Linked DNA regions of Homo sapiens: all the other regions are linked to region 3. The links are contacts of gene promoters, found by promoter capture Hi-C in blood cells and fetal thymus (Javierre and others, 2016). All regions are on one chromosome and are shown on one strand. Each heading gives the region's core, a stretch centred on a gene start or on the middle of the fragment in contact. The rest is flanking DNA. Distances are from core to core; before and after follow the strand shown.

Region 1 (3,822 bases), core at 1,116-3,615, about 13 Mb before region 3:
ACACCCGGCTAATTTTTGTATTTTTAGTAGAGACGGGGTTTCACTGTGTTAGCCAGGACGGTCTCAATCTCCTGACCTCGTGATCCACCCGCCTCGGCCTCCCAGAGTGCTGGGATTACAGGCGTGAGCCACCGTGCCCAGCGAGATAAATGATTTTTTCTTAAGTATCATTCCATAGTTCAGGTTTTAAAAGTTGCCAGTAAAGTATAAATGTTATGATGGTCTTGCCTGGAGGCTAAGCAAAATGAACCAGATCTTCCCTGCAATCTGAAGGTTTTTCACCATAATGAAATATACGAACTATGGCGGCTATTGATTTTGTGTGCCCAAAGCTATCCCCATCCCTCTTTTCCATAAGCAAAGTCTATAGTCCCTTGGACAGAAGAATGGGCATGTGTCCTAAGATTGGCTAATCAAGCACCTCACATCACTGGCATAGTCTAAGTAGGGCCAACCAGAATCCTCTCTGGGAACTGTGTGACACAGATGCTGCGAAAAATAAACACCCTCCCTGTTTCCCACCATGTGGAGAGCCCAAGACCAACATTCAAAGAGAAACAGACAAGCAGAAATGAGAGAAAGCAAGAGAATCTGGCAGTGTCAGCTCCTTGGTTCTCATTCCTGAGCTAGTTTCTTTGTAAATTAATCCTGTATCTGTATCAACTACAGAGGCCAGAAAATTCCTTTTTTGCTTAAAATAGTTTGAATTGGGTTTTTGTCCCTTGCAATTCCAAAATCCTAATCTATACTTACCCCAAGAGAGAGGGCTGGATATACATTGCCCTTAATGCAGGGAAATCAATACATTTTTGTTAAATTTTTAAAATTTGGACGCCTCTAGACAGGCTCTCTATTATGTCTTCTATCTATCACTTCCAATATCCTACACCCACCAACTTCACTATTTCTATTACATAAACCCTGAAAGCATCTGATTTTGCCAGTGCTTCCCCAGGATGTCCCTAGAATTTTTAAAAATCCTAATATAAGCTTGCTTCAGTTGATTTCCCAAAAAAGTCGAATATAAAATACATTCAAGGTAACCTAAGTTAAATGAGATTCTACCCAATCTAGAACATCAAAAAGCCTAGGTATCAACACTTTAGTATGTGAGGAGGCAAAATTTCAAAATTTAACATGAATCCAAAGGGGGTATGCTACTTCAATATAATTTAGTTGCATGTTTTTCTTCATACCAATGGAAATCAATAACAACAATAAATCTCAGGACCTACCTCCAATAAGGCTCCAGTTTGAAAGAATTTCAAAGGCTTTTCAATTGAATAATAAAGGCTATGGTAGCTACCCTTAGCCAGGTATGCTCGGACCAGACCAACCGCTATAACCAGCCACCTAGTAAAAGAGAAAACAGCAATCAGGAAAAAATAAAAATAAAAAAAGTAGCATTTAGGTTAACACACAGCTGTGGCAATAAAAGATATTGCTAAAGGTGACCTCAAGCATGAGTAACCTGGATTTATGGACGATAGCTCTCAAATGCCAAGCTGTAATGCACTGAAATGTTGCAACACCGACAGCACCTTACCAAGAGGGCTCAGTGAAAGCATAGTGGCACCTCACCCATCTGGAGCTCATTTTTTTGGCAACTTTGCTATTGAGATCAAGGCCAAAAGGAAAGGAATAAGCTAAAATGGTCCTTGTGCCACTAAATCAGGTGCCAAGAAAATCTAAGACGAGAAAAAAACAGTTAAAGGAAAATTTTAAACAGCCTGTGCAGTTAAAGGGTTTTTAATAATTACAGGGTGGAAAGAAGATGCTTTAAACTATTGTTATAATTGTCTCACTGGAACAATTACCCATACCTTAAAATCTATCCTTTTAAAATTACGAATAAAGGGCTCTTGCTAAAAAAAAAAAGTTTTTTAGCCAAATTTCCTAAAATCAATGCAGAAATGAAAGCCAGATCAATACAAACCACGAAACAGGAAAGCACTTAAGCATACAGCTGTGAATGTTATATTTTTGTTCCACTGTCCTTCTCAAAAATAAACACAATGTTTTGTTAAGTTCCATAATAAAACAAATGGACCTTTTTATTAAGGTATGTCTCCTGGAAGGATTTAGATAAATGTATAGTATCAACTAGGCAATGGGGTGTGTGTGGTCTATGCTATTTCCAAAAACTATCACATAAGGACATCAAGTAAGAGTTTGTAAAAGAAGAAATTATTTAATGGTGTAACTGGTACAACCATTAACAGCCTTAAAAAAAAAGCTTACTTTGCTCTCACAATCCCAATTTATCTTCCTGGTTTAAGATACCACTCCTTACCCTCCACCCCATTCTCTATGTTCATTGCTCAGGAATAGACTTCTTTCTTCTTACCAATGTACCTCAAAATCCCTCTCCAGTCCAATGCCCTCACCGGCTCTTGCTAAGACAACAAGAATTTTATATATAAATATTAATACACACAGTGAGATTCCTGGATGTTTTTTTAAAAATCAATCTATGTGACCACTGATGTGATATAAAGCTTGTATCTGTACTAGTTCTTCATTGACCTGTGAGTCAAGAGAAATGATTTCTAGATCTGGAACTTCTACTAACAAGTTCTATGATCTCATGCAAGTCACAACTTCTCTGAGCCTAGGTTCCAACACCTACCATTTCTAATACTAGCAATACATATATGATCCTCCCACGATATATTTTCTTCTTCGTGAAAAAAAAGCAAGGTGCTGAACTGTAAAAATATTAATATATTGGCATTTGTCTTATTTTAAAAAGGGATAGGGGGATGTATAAACATATTTGCTTGCATCAGCATCTTAAGGATACACAAAATTAACTGCCTCGAGGGAGGGGAGCTGGGTAGAAGGGAAAGGTGGGAGGAAAGATTTTCACTGTATTCCCTCATGTTTTTCATTTTTAACCCTAACAATGTATCACCTACTTTAAATAAAAATGGATGTTCACTATACAATTCTTTCAACTCTTCTGTATGTTTGAAATTTTTCATAATAAAATGTTAGGACTTCTTAAAAAATTACAAATGAAGATAACTTAAAAATATATAACTGTCTGATGCTGTGATCCTCCTCACCAAAATGACAAGATAAAGAATTGCAGAGCTGAAGGAACCTTCATCACCCAGACCAACCCTTTAGTTTTACAAATGAAAAAACGGAGGCTAGAGAAATAAGATGATTTATCCAAAGTCACACAGCTAGTTAGTGGCAGAGCTTGAACTAAAAACCCGCCGGGATAAGGGATGCACTGAAATGAAAGAGACAGAAGATGGGTAAAACCGTTTCGAGGGTCCATTCTCCCCCTTTCCAGTAACTCTGCCTTCTACTCCCCAGTTTCTTCCCCACCCCAACCCATCCTAAAAGTCTAAACTCATCTAAAGCCTAGCTCTGCTCATGTCGCTGGCCAAAAACTTTGAACGCTTTCCCAATACCTTTCAGATTAAAGCGCAGCCCAGATTTTGAAAACAGCCGCCCAAATGAATGGTCACTCTGCAGCCACAGCTCCTCCACTCCCCATGCTGGCGCCGTTCAACATCCGAATCTGGCCGCCCAGGACGGGCTCCGCGCCGCAGGTAGTCCGGCCGCTGCCCCCGGCCCCGCACCTGTGGCCAGCCCCACCTTTCCTCCCGCGGCCCTCGCGAGCCAGCGCCCGGCAGCCGTCCCCGCGCCCCAGTGCCTGGGAACTTGGCTCGACCCCCAGCGCAGGAGGGAGCTCGCGGGCAGCCACCGGGGCCGATTCAGCGCTCGGCCGCCCTCAGCGCCCAGGTACCGGGTCCCGGGCACCCCCCGCCGGGAATGCACTGCCTGCGGCGGGCCGCGCCGATCCTA
Region 2 (3,668 bases), core at 370-2,869, about 16 Mb before region 3:
ATGTGTAGTCATACAAACAAGAAAAAAATGTTGGGAGGGTGGGACATTTAACGTCTCTATTAAGTATATCAAACTATGATAACCCCTGAGACCTAAAATATTCTCTCATTCCAAATTCCAAAAATTCTGCAAATGTGCATAATGGTTTAGTAATCAAATCTTGTCCTTCTCTTTATTCTAAAGGATGGGCAAGTAAACACTGTCATCACTACTTTAACGTGGAAACACTCGAGCACTTGATGAAACTGACTACCAACAGCAAGAAAAGTACAAGAAAGCAGTTTGAAATCGAATCATCCAAATAAATATCATATTATCTCAATTCAAGGTTAATGAGACCGGGGGAGGGGGTATGGGAGGAGTAAAAAGGGAGCTGCTTCATCCTTGACTGAAGATAGGTTTTGCCCTTTTCCATTGCCTGTTTATCAGGAGGTCTAATAATTTCAGATCCTGGTATTTCGAGGTTTCTTATTTTAAGGGCGAGGTGGAAAAGGGGTGTAAAATAAAACCAATACTCACTGCTAACTTTCATGCTGCCAAAAGCTGAAGGCTGCTGCACCGGCTTGCAGCTCTCCGCAAAGGAGGTGGTTCTGGGCCGCCCTGACATGATCACTCTCTTCGCGAATCACCTTTTCCTTCCTTCCTCCTTTTCTTCCTTTTGTCTTTATGTTGGGGTGTTAGGTTAACGATAAATGCAGCATTAAGTTCTCCCACAGAAGAAAAAGAAAAAGACTTCGTCCTCTTGGCTTTTCACTCCTTTTGTATACTATAAAAAACAAAACAAGCGATATATTTCTCCTTCAAGACAGATCGGCACGGATATTTAACATATAGATGATTTAGGACTTGGGAAAAAATACAATTCTTTCCCCTCCCTTTCCTGGGAGGAGAGAAAAGAGAGGGCAAATCCTAAAAAAATATGTATCACGTGAAACGGGGGCAAATACTTGATTGAAAATGAGTACTTCGAATATTATATTTTCCTCGGGGATTTTTTTTCCGAGTCAATGAAGAAGGGAAGCGGCGGAAGGATCACGAGTCTCACGCTTGAAGAGAAAGGGGGATGGGTAGGAGGGAGGGAGAGGGAGGGAGGGGGTGGCTCGGAGATGCGACGGGAAACGCTGCAGCTCCGGCAAGCCGCGGGATCCGGCGGGCTGACGGCAGGGGCCCGGCGAACTAGAGGGCGGCGGAGTCGCGAGTCAGTCAGAGGCGGGCGGTGGCGGTGGCGGCGGCTCCTCTCCTCATTGCGCCAGGAGCAGCTGCAGGCGGCGGCTGGATCCAGCGGCCATGGCGGTGGCGGAGGCAGCTCCCTTCAGACCCCAGGCAGCGGCTCCTCGACTGTTCCCCATTCGCCGGGGACATGGGAACCCGGCAACCGCTTCCGTCCCTCGGGGCCCCCTCCCCCGTCCGCGGCAACAGCTCGGCCGCCCTCCCGCCCCTCGGCTCTGCTCGGTGCCCGCTCAGGAAGTGTCCGCGCTTTGCCCCAGCCCAGAGCCCTGTCAGCGGCTGCGGGGCCGGCTCCTCCTCGCTTCCTTCCTTCCTTTGTCACTTGGCCCGGGCGGCGGCGGCGGCGGCGGCGGCACAAGCCCGCATTCGCCCGGGTCAGGAGCTGCTCTGTGTGAGGAGCGCTGTCTGCGCAGCCGCCTTGCACTTCCCCACTCCTCCTCCCCCCTCCTACTCGTCCTCCACCTCCTTCCTCCCCCACCCAGCCTTACACCGCCCAGCGCCCCGCCGCCCGCGTAACAGGCGTCTGGGAATCGCCGGCCGAGCCCCACGCTCGCCCGCTTCGGCTGGGAGCCGAAGCCCGAACGGAGCCAATCACGGACGTCGTTTGTTTGCGGCTCCTCCCGGAAAAAGCCGATCAGCCTGAGAAACCAATTAGAAAGTGACGCTGGGAAGCCACGCCCAAAGAGCGGAAAATGCCGAAGGTAGCCGAACGGAAAGGGTGAATTCGCCTTGTTCGGTGGCTGGCTGGAGGAGACATTCGACAATGGCAACAGTGGCCAATCAGAGTCGCCGGCCCTTACGAAGAGGCTTGAAGAGTTGAGGACGGTGAAACCCAGAGACGCTGGTGAAACTGCACGGCTGGGCGCCGCCGCCGCTTTGTGATTGGCTGGAAAACTCCGCTGGGAGCGTACCTCCTTCGGTGATTGGTGAAGAGAAGGGGGCTTCCGAGGACAGTCTGGCCAGTCAGGACTTCCCCTCCCTCTCCAAGGTGGGGAGAAGAAAGCGAAGGGAGGGCGTCTATAAAGCGCTGTCTCATTGGCCTGAAGCTTAGGCGCTGGAGTTGGGGCAAAAGGGAGAGGGAGGGAGCCCGAAACTCGCGGCGGCGGCCAATCGGCTCTCACTGCCGTCCAATCGCAAGACCTAGCTGCAGTGTGATTGGCCTTCGGCCCCGGTCCCAGGAGCGGGGAGATGCCTGACTCGGGTCGTGGCTGACGACCCGACGGTTCGCCTGCGGCCGCCTCCAACAACGGTGGAAACCGCACACAGGGACCGCGGGCCCTCGGTGCAGCAAATCGGAAAGTGCTGCGGTCGGCGGCCCTGGGCTCTGAGCGCTCAAGCGAGCAGAGGGGTGGAGGGGCTCTCCCCACCCACAGGAGGCTCTCGGCGGGGCGCAGCCAATTCTGCGCGCCCAAGGCTCCCCTCTGCCGTGGATCGCGTGTGCCGAGTGTTGGCCTCTTCCCCGAAAGGGCCAGACGGACCAAGGGGGCCTTCCCAGCCGGCTGCAAGCTCTCAGACGCTAAAATGGGAACAAAGCTTCCAGAAAGGCAGCGCCTTTGGGCGGCCGCGCCCCGCCCAGCCGCGGGGGCCATTGATACAGAGGCTTGCTGCGCTTGGTGTGCGCGGCCCGGCCGGGCCTCTGGAAACGCCCATGAGAAATGAGCTCATGCTGGATGCGCGCGCTCCTTGGGCGCAACTGCCCAGCGCAAAACGGGCCCCGAAAGCAGGTGAGGGGAAATGCCGTCAGGCCGGATATCCTGAAGCCTCCGAGGAAATGGGGGGGTCAGAGGAGCCCGTGGTAGCTTTGGATCTTTTGGAACTAGGGTGATCTATAAAAGTGCAGCTTGAGAAGATTTCATACATAAGACCAGCGTCCATTGTTCTACCATAGAACCAGTTCCTTTGGTCTGCTTTAGAACAGTGAGGTATGGCTACGTCAAGATAACAGAGAAAGTAGAACAGACAGTTGCCATCCTGATTGTAATCCAGTGGTGCCTGTAATTTCTACCTGCAGAGTCATCTCTTTCTGTTAAGATGCTGTCTCCAGAAAGCACATGTTAAAGGACCTATATTTGATCAGATTACCTGGCTCTTGCTTTGAAACACTGATGAAGGACTTGGGACAGAACAAAGTAAGCTTTGATGGAAGACAGGAAAGGTCTAGATAGTGTTTGCAGATTCAAATGGCTACAGAGGCCAGACAAGTAAAGCAAATGAGTGAGACTGGCCTTGTGTAAGACAATGGGGAATGATAGGGAAAATGGCAAATTGGAATATCCATGCCATAACTAAAAGGAACAGCTGCTCAACTCTAGCAGATTGTTGCCCTCAGGAATGTGGGTCCAGTGTTCTCAGATGTTCAATTTTTTTCCTCCCAAAAGAAACCCCAAAATTGGATTTTTGTGTGAAATCTCTGCATTTTTAAATGTTGGTAACCAAATTTT
Region 3 (3,914 bases), core at 688-3,187:
CTAAAAAGCACTTCGAGTACCAACAGCCTTCCCCGGCTCGCTGTTAACCGTCAAACCGTCAAAGCATTTGTGGAGGAACCTGGGGCAAAGTTCCGCGCCGGGTTCTCCAGCTGTGGGTTCATCAGCTTAGCCCACCACTCCCACGTAACACCAGTTTGGGGAAATGCAAACACGCCACATGTGCCCACATGTGCATGTTTTGATCATGTTTAACCACTTTTAACCGCCGTAGGTACGTAATCAGCTCCCGCGGCAAAGGTTTAAGAAAAAAAAAAAAAAAGCCTTGTGCATGCATCTTACCCCCACTTAAACCACCACCACCAGATGAACCGAGGCGAATTAAACCATTTTGAACGTTAACGCCGCTGCACAAAGCGGTATGAAAGGGTTCTCTGCCTTTCTGAAACGCCGGGCAAAAGTCCCTCAGCAAGTTTCAAAACTAATGACCGTACAGCGCTGCACAAATAACAAAAGCTTAATACCAACCACCAGGCCGTCAACCCGCTCACGTTACCACTGCCCAGAAGGCTTTTAAAAACAAGCATTGAAAAGGGAACAATAAAAAGCGTCTCACCGCAAACACAGCACGAAAGGGACTGTCGGAAGTAAGGCAAGAGCCTGTTAATCTCAGTAAACGCCTTGGGGTCTCCGGGGTCGTAGTTGAGCACTAGGCGGCTCGCGGAAATGTAGAGAGCAGTAGCATTCACGGGGTTCATTGCAGACACTTCGACACCAATGGCTCCCGGTTGAAAAGAAATTCCGGATCCAACTTAGTAAGCAGCCAGGGAACGATGGCGAATTTGCAACAATTCGGAAGAAATCAGAGCCGAACCATTGGCCAAACAAGTAACCAAAATCCGTGCAAGTTTGTGGAGCTGAAACAATCCTCCCACACATGGGGCCTTGGCGCCCCTCCGTCCCTGAGACTTCCAGACCAAAAATATGAGAGAGAAACCAGCGTTCGAGTTCGTCCGGAGCGACCACAGAGCGCAGAACGCGGCGGCTTGGGCGCTCGGGGCGGGACTCGGAGCTCAGTCTAGCCCCGCGGCTCGGCAGGCGGCCTGCACTCGAGCTCCATCTCCGGACACGGAGGCGCCTCCTCAAGTCGAGCTGGCAGGCGCGGGAGCAGGCCCCGGCCCCGTCTGAGGCGCGGCACGCTTCTCCCGGGCTGCAGGGCCTCTTACTCCATCCCAGTACAGGGCGCGGAGGCGGCGGCGACGGCAAGGACGACGGTCGGGCAGCGGCTTCCCGGATCTAGTGCAAGACGCCGCGGCGGCGACGAAGGTTGATGTTGCGGCTGGCGGACGCCGCCGCCGCGCTCTCCATATCGGACGCGGGGCCCAGACTGCGCCCTGGCTCTCCGCCCCGTGGGTTGCAGCCCGCAGTTCCCCGAGGTGGCGAGGCGGGCGGGAGTCCTCAACCCGGAGGGGAAGGCCGGGGAGGAAGTGCGCGGGCCGCCGCCGGCGGGCGGGAGGGGGCGGGGGGCAAGCCCGGCCGGGCCGCGGCGGCGCCCCTCGCGCCTCAGTCGCACACTCCGGGGTCACCAGACTCAAGCGCCGCCCCCTCACTGCCCGGCCATTTTTTCGGCGCCACACACACAGACGACTCCTCCGCCGAGCACGACGGCCGCCGCCGCCCTCAGCACTCCCCGGCCGCGGAAGGCAAGCGCTCACACCGCCAGGCCCCGCCGCCGCCCAGCGCACACAGCAAGGCCCCGCCGCAGGCCCCTCCCCCGTGCCTCGCCGCCCTCACCCCGACTCCACGCGCCACTCCAGCTCGGTAGGGCCCGGGCTGCTGCGGCCTTAATGGATCCCGCGGGCTGTGTGGCGCCTCAGGCCTCTGCTGGCGGCGACGACGACCGTTACCCCAACGGGCAAAGCCACTGTCATCCCCGAGACTCCCCCGCCGCCGTCGTCGCTAGCGCTCGCACGCATGCGCAGAGCACACTCTCACCCCTCCCCCCTTTCCTCTCCCTTCGCTTCCCTTTTCCCTTGCTTCTCCTCTAACAACCCCCTCCACAGCCTCCCAGAGCTACCGGCTCACTCCACGCATGCGCAAGCTGCTACCTAGCTCCGCCGCCTTTCGCCCTTCCGCGTGCGCTTTGACCGCCCACCCAGAAAACCGGATAAACACATCAGCCTGCTCGCGCCAGTCCCTCACCGCTGCCAACCCACCCTGGGCTCACTGCGCATGCCTGGCTCTCCACTTCGACTCTCAGAATGGAGCATGCTCTCTGCGAGCCGACAGCTCTCTTCGCCCCTCCCCCACGTGCTCTCAAATTCCCTCTCCCAGGCATGTGGGCTGTGGTGAAACATTCGTTAGCTGGCACATCCTTCCCCAGTGTGGGCTGCAGGCTTCCCGCATTACACTGCTTCTGTGCCCGCCAACGCCGGGGCCCGACTTGGTAGCGCCATGTGGCGCTCTGCACTGGCCTGAACGCGGCCTCTCGTCCTGACTGACCGCGGTGTGAGGAAATAGCCGCGCCAGGCCCCAAGCCCCGCCCTCGCGGCCTTTCTCCTGGAACCGCTCATCCCGACCGCGGAAAGGGCGCAGCCTCGGCTGGCTGGCAGGCTCTCGCCGAGCCGGGAAGGCTGCAGTAGTCAACGTGGCTGCGCGCCCAGCAGGCGTGCGGACGGCTTTTGCCGGGTCGGGGCCGCGTTCCGCACCTCTCTGCGGTGGTTCGCAGTCAGAGGGCTCTAAGGCCCTGGCAGGCTGTATGTAAGCGTGGAGGCTCGAACCCACTGCCCCCTCCTACCCGTCGGACCCGCGCTGTTCCCACGGCCTCTGGCCCTTGGACTCGTGCGGCCTCACCTTCATGGGTGCCGATCAGGACTTCACCGAGCTCTCACCGGAACAGAGTCCTGTTTTAAAAACAAAACGAACTCCTTTTTTTTTTTTTTGAAAGACCTAGCTTTTTTAAAAGACCTAGCTCTTCTGTGTGAACAGATGTCTTGAAGAATGCGTGATCTTGCTCTAGAACAAACCCAAATCCTTGCAAATGTTTTGTTTTTTAAAACAAGCTTTTGCCTTTTGTTTTTGCAGGAGATCAAGGGCACTGGGATATAAATAAACAAAAGCCTGACTTAGTAGATGACTTCCCTCCCATCTCAAAGTACAAAACCTTTTTTTGAGTAGCACAAATAGTAACAGGCCATAGGAAGCATTTCTTATCTCTGTACACACCAAAGCTCCTCAGCATAATTTTTCATGCACAGTAGGTACTCTATACGTTTGCAAAGTGAAAATTATGATGCGTGTAAATCTATTGTGGCACATGTTACATATGTACACAGGCACGTATATGGAACATGTAAATGTGGTACGTGTTAGTTACAAGCTGCCACTTGAGGTGAGTAGGAATAGTTAAGATATCAAGGGAACACATATAATCTCGATTTATAATTTCTATTACCATTTGAAGACAGGTTTTTTTTTCACAAGACCTACCATATTATCAACACTTAAATATTAAGCAGTAAGAATATAACTTCCTAATTTTGATTAGCTGTGCAAACTGTATTTGGTTGTCTTATACGTGGAAAATGACAAATATTCTAAAAGCCACTCTCATTTTTAAAAGCTCTCTTTTTTTTTTTTTTTTTGCATAAGAGATCTTTTCTAAGCTCTCCTTCAAATAAAATTGTTACACGGTTCTATTTTTACTCCAGACTCTAAGGTCTTCTCCCACAACACAGAGGTGGTTCTCCCCAAAAGGAGCAACACAGAGTAAAATAATCAGCACTGTTTTCCGTTAAGACAATAAATTAGCAGTCACCCTAAGCAAGTGATTACTTGCAGGGCATTAACCTTGCTAATTTTCTCATAACTGGATTTTTACAAATGTCTTCAGATGTGTACACCCCAAATTAAGATTAATTCTGTTGATCATTCGTGTGCATGGACGTGAGAGAGAA

Evidence for each region. Contacts are between HindIII fragments. The CHiCAGO score rates a contact against its expected background, and 5 or more counts as called.
Region 1: a fragment that was not itself captured here is called in contact with the fragment with the promoter of MSL2 in region 3 in 1 of 17 cell types (total B cells); the score reaches 9.1 in total B cells.
Region 2: a contact is called between the fragment with the promoter of GSK3B here and the fragment with the promoter of MSL2 in region 3, in 7 of 17 cell types (fetal thymus, non-activated CD4 T cells, total B cells and 4 more). The highest score is 20.4, in fetal thymus.

Annotation. Positions count from the first base shown.
Region 1 is chr3:123,580,977-123,584,798 of GRCh38, forward strand. It overlaps HACD2 (3-hydroxyacyl-CoA dehydratase 2), which reads right to left. Exons shown (of 7, transcript NM_198402.5): 2 at 1,236-1,353. Among named protein-coding and RNA genes, the nearest start is that of HACD2, 2.2 kb to the right of the region's middle. RefSeq lists silencers at 3,402-3,581, 3,592-3,822. The HindIII fragment of the contact is 262 bases long and covers 2,235-2,496 here.
Region 2 is chr3:120,092,828-120,096,495 of GRCh38, forward strand. GSK3B (glycogen synthase kinase 3 beta) reads right to left here and starts at 1,620. Exons shown (of 11, transcript NM_001146156.2): 1 at 520-1,620. The coding sequence starts at 607. It overlaps GSK3B-DT (GSK3B divergent transcript), which reads left to right and starts at 2,277. Exons shown (of 3, transcript NR_186629.1): 1 at 2,277-2,951. RefSeq lists enhancers at 1,799-2,208, 1,835-2,129, 2,409-2,728. The HindIII fragment of the contact is 3,897 bases long and covers 1-2,271 here.
Region 3 is chr3:136,194,398-136,198,311 of GRCh38, forward strand. It overlaps MSL2 (MSL complex subunit 2), which reads right to left and starts at 1,938. Exons shown (of 2, transcript NM_018133.4): 1 at 575-1,938. The coding sequence starts at 716. RefSeq lists enhancers at 726-795, 846-895, 895-1,641, 946-1,015, 1,642-2,388 and 2 more and a silencer at 1,356-1,745. The HindIII fragment of the contact is 2,546 bases long and covers 473-3,018 here.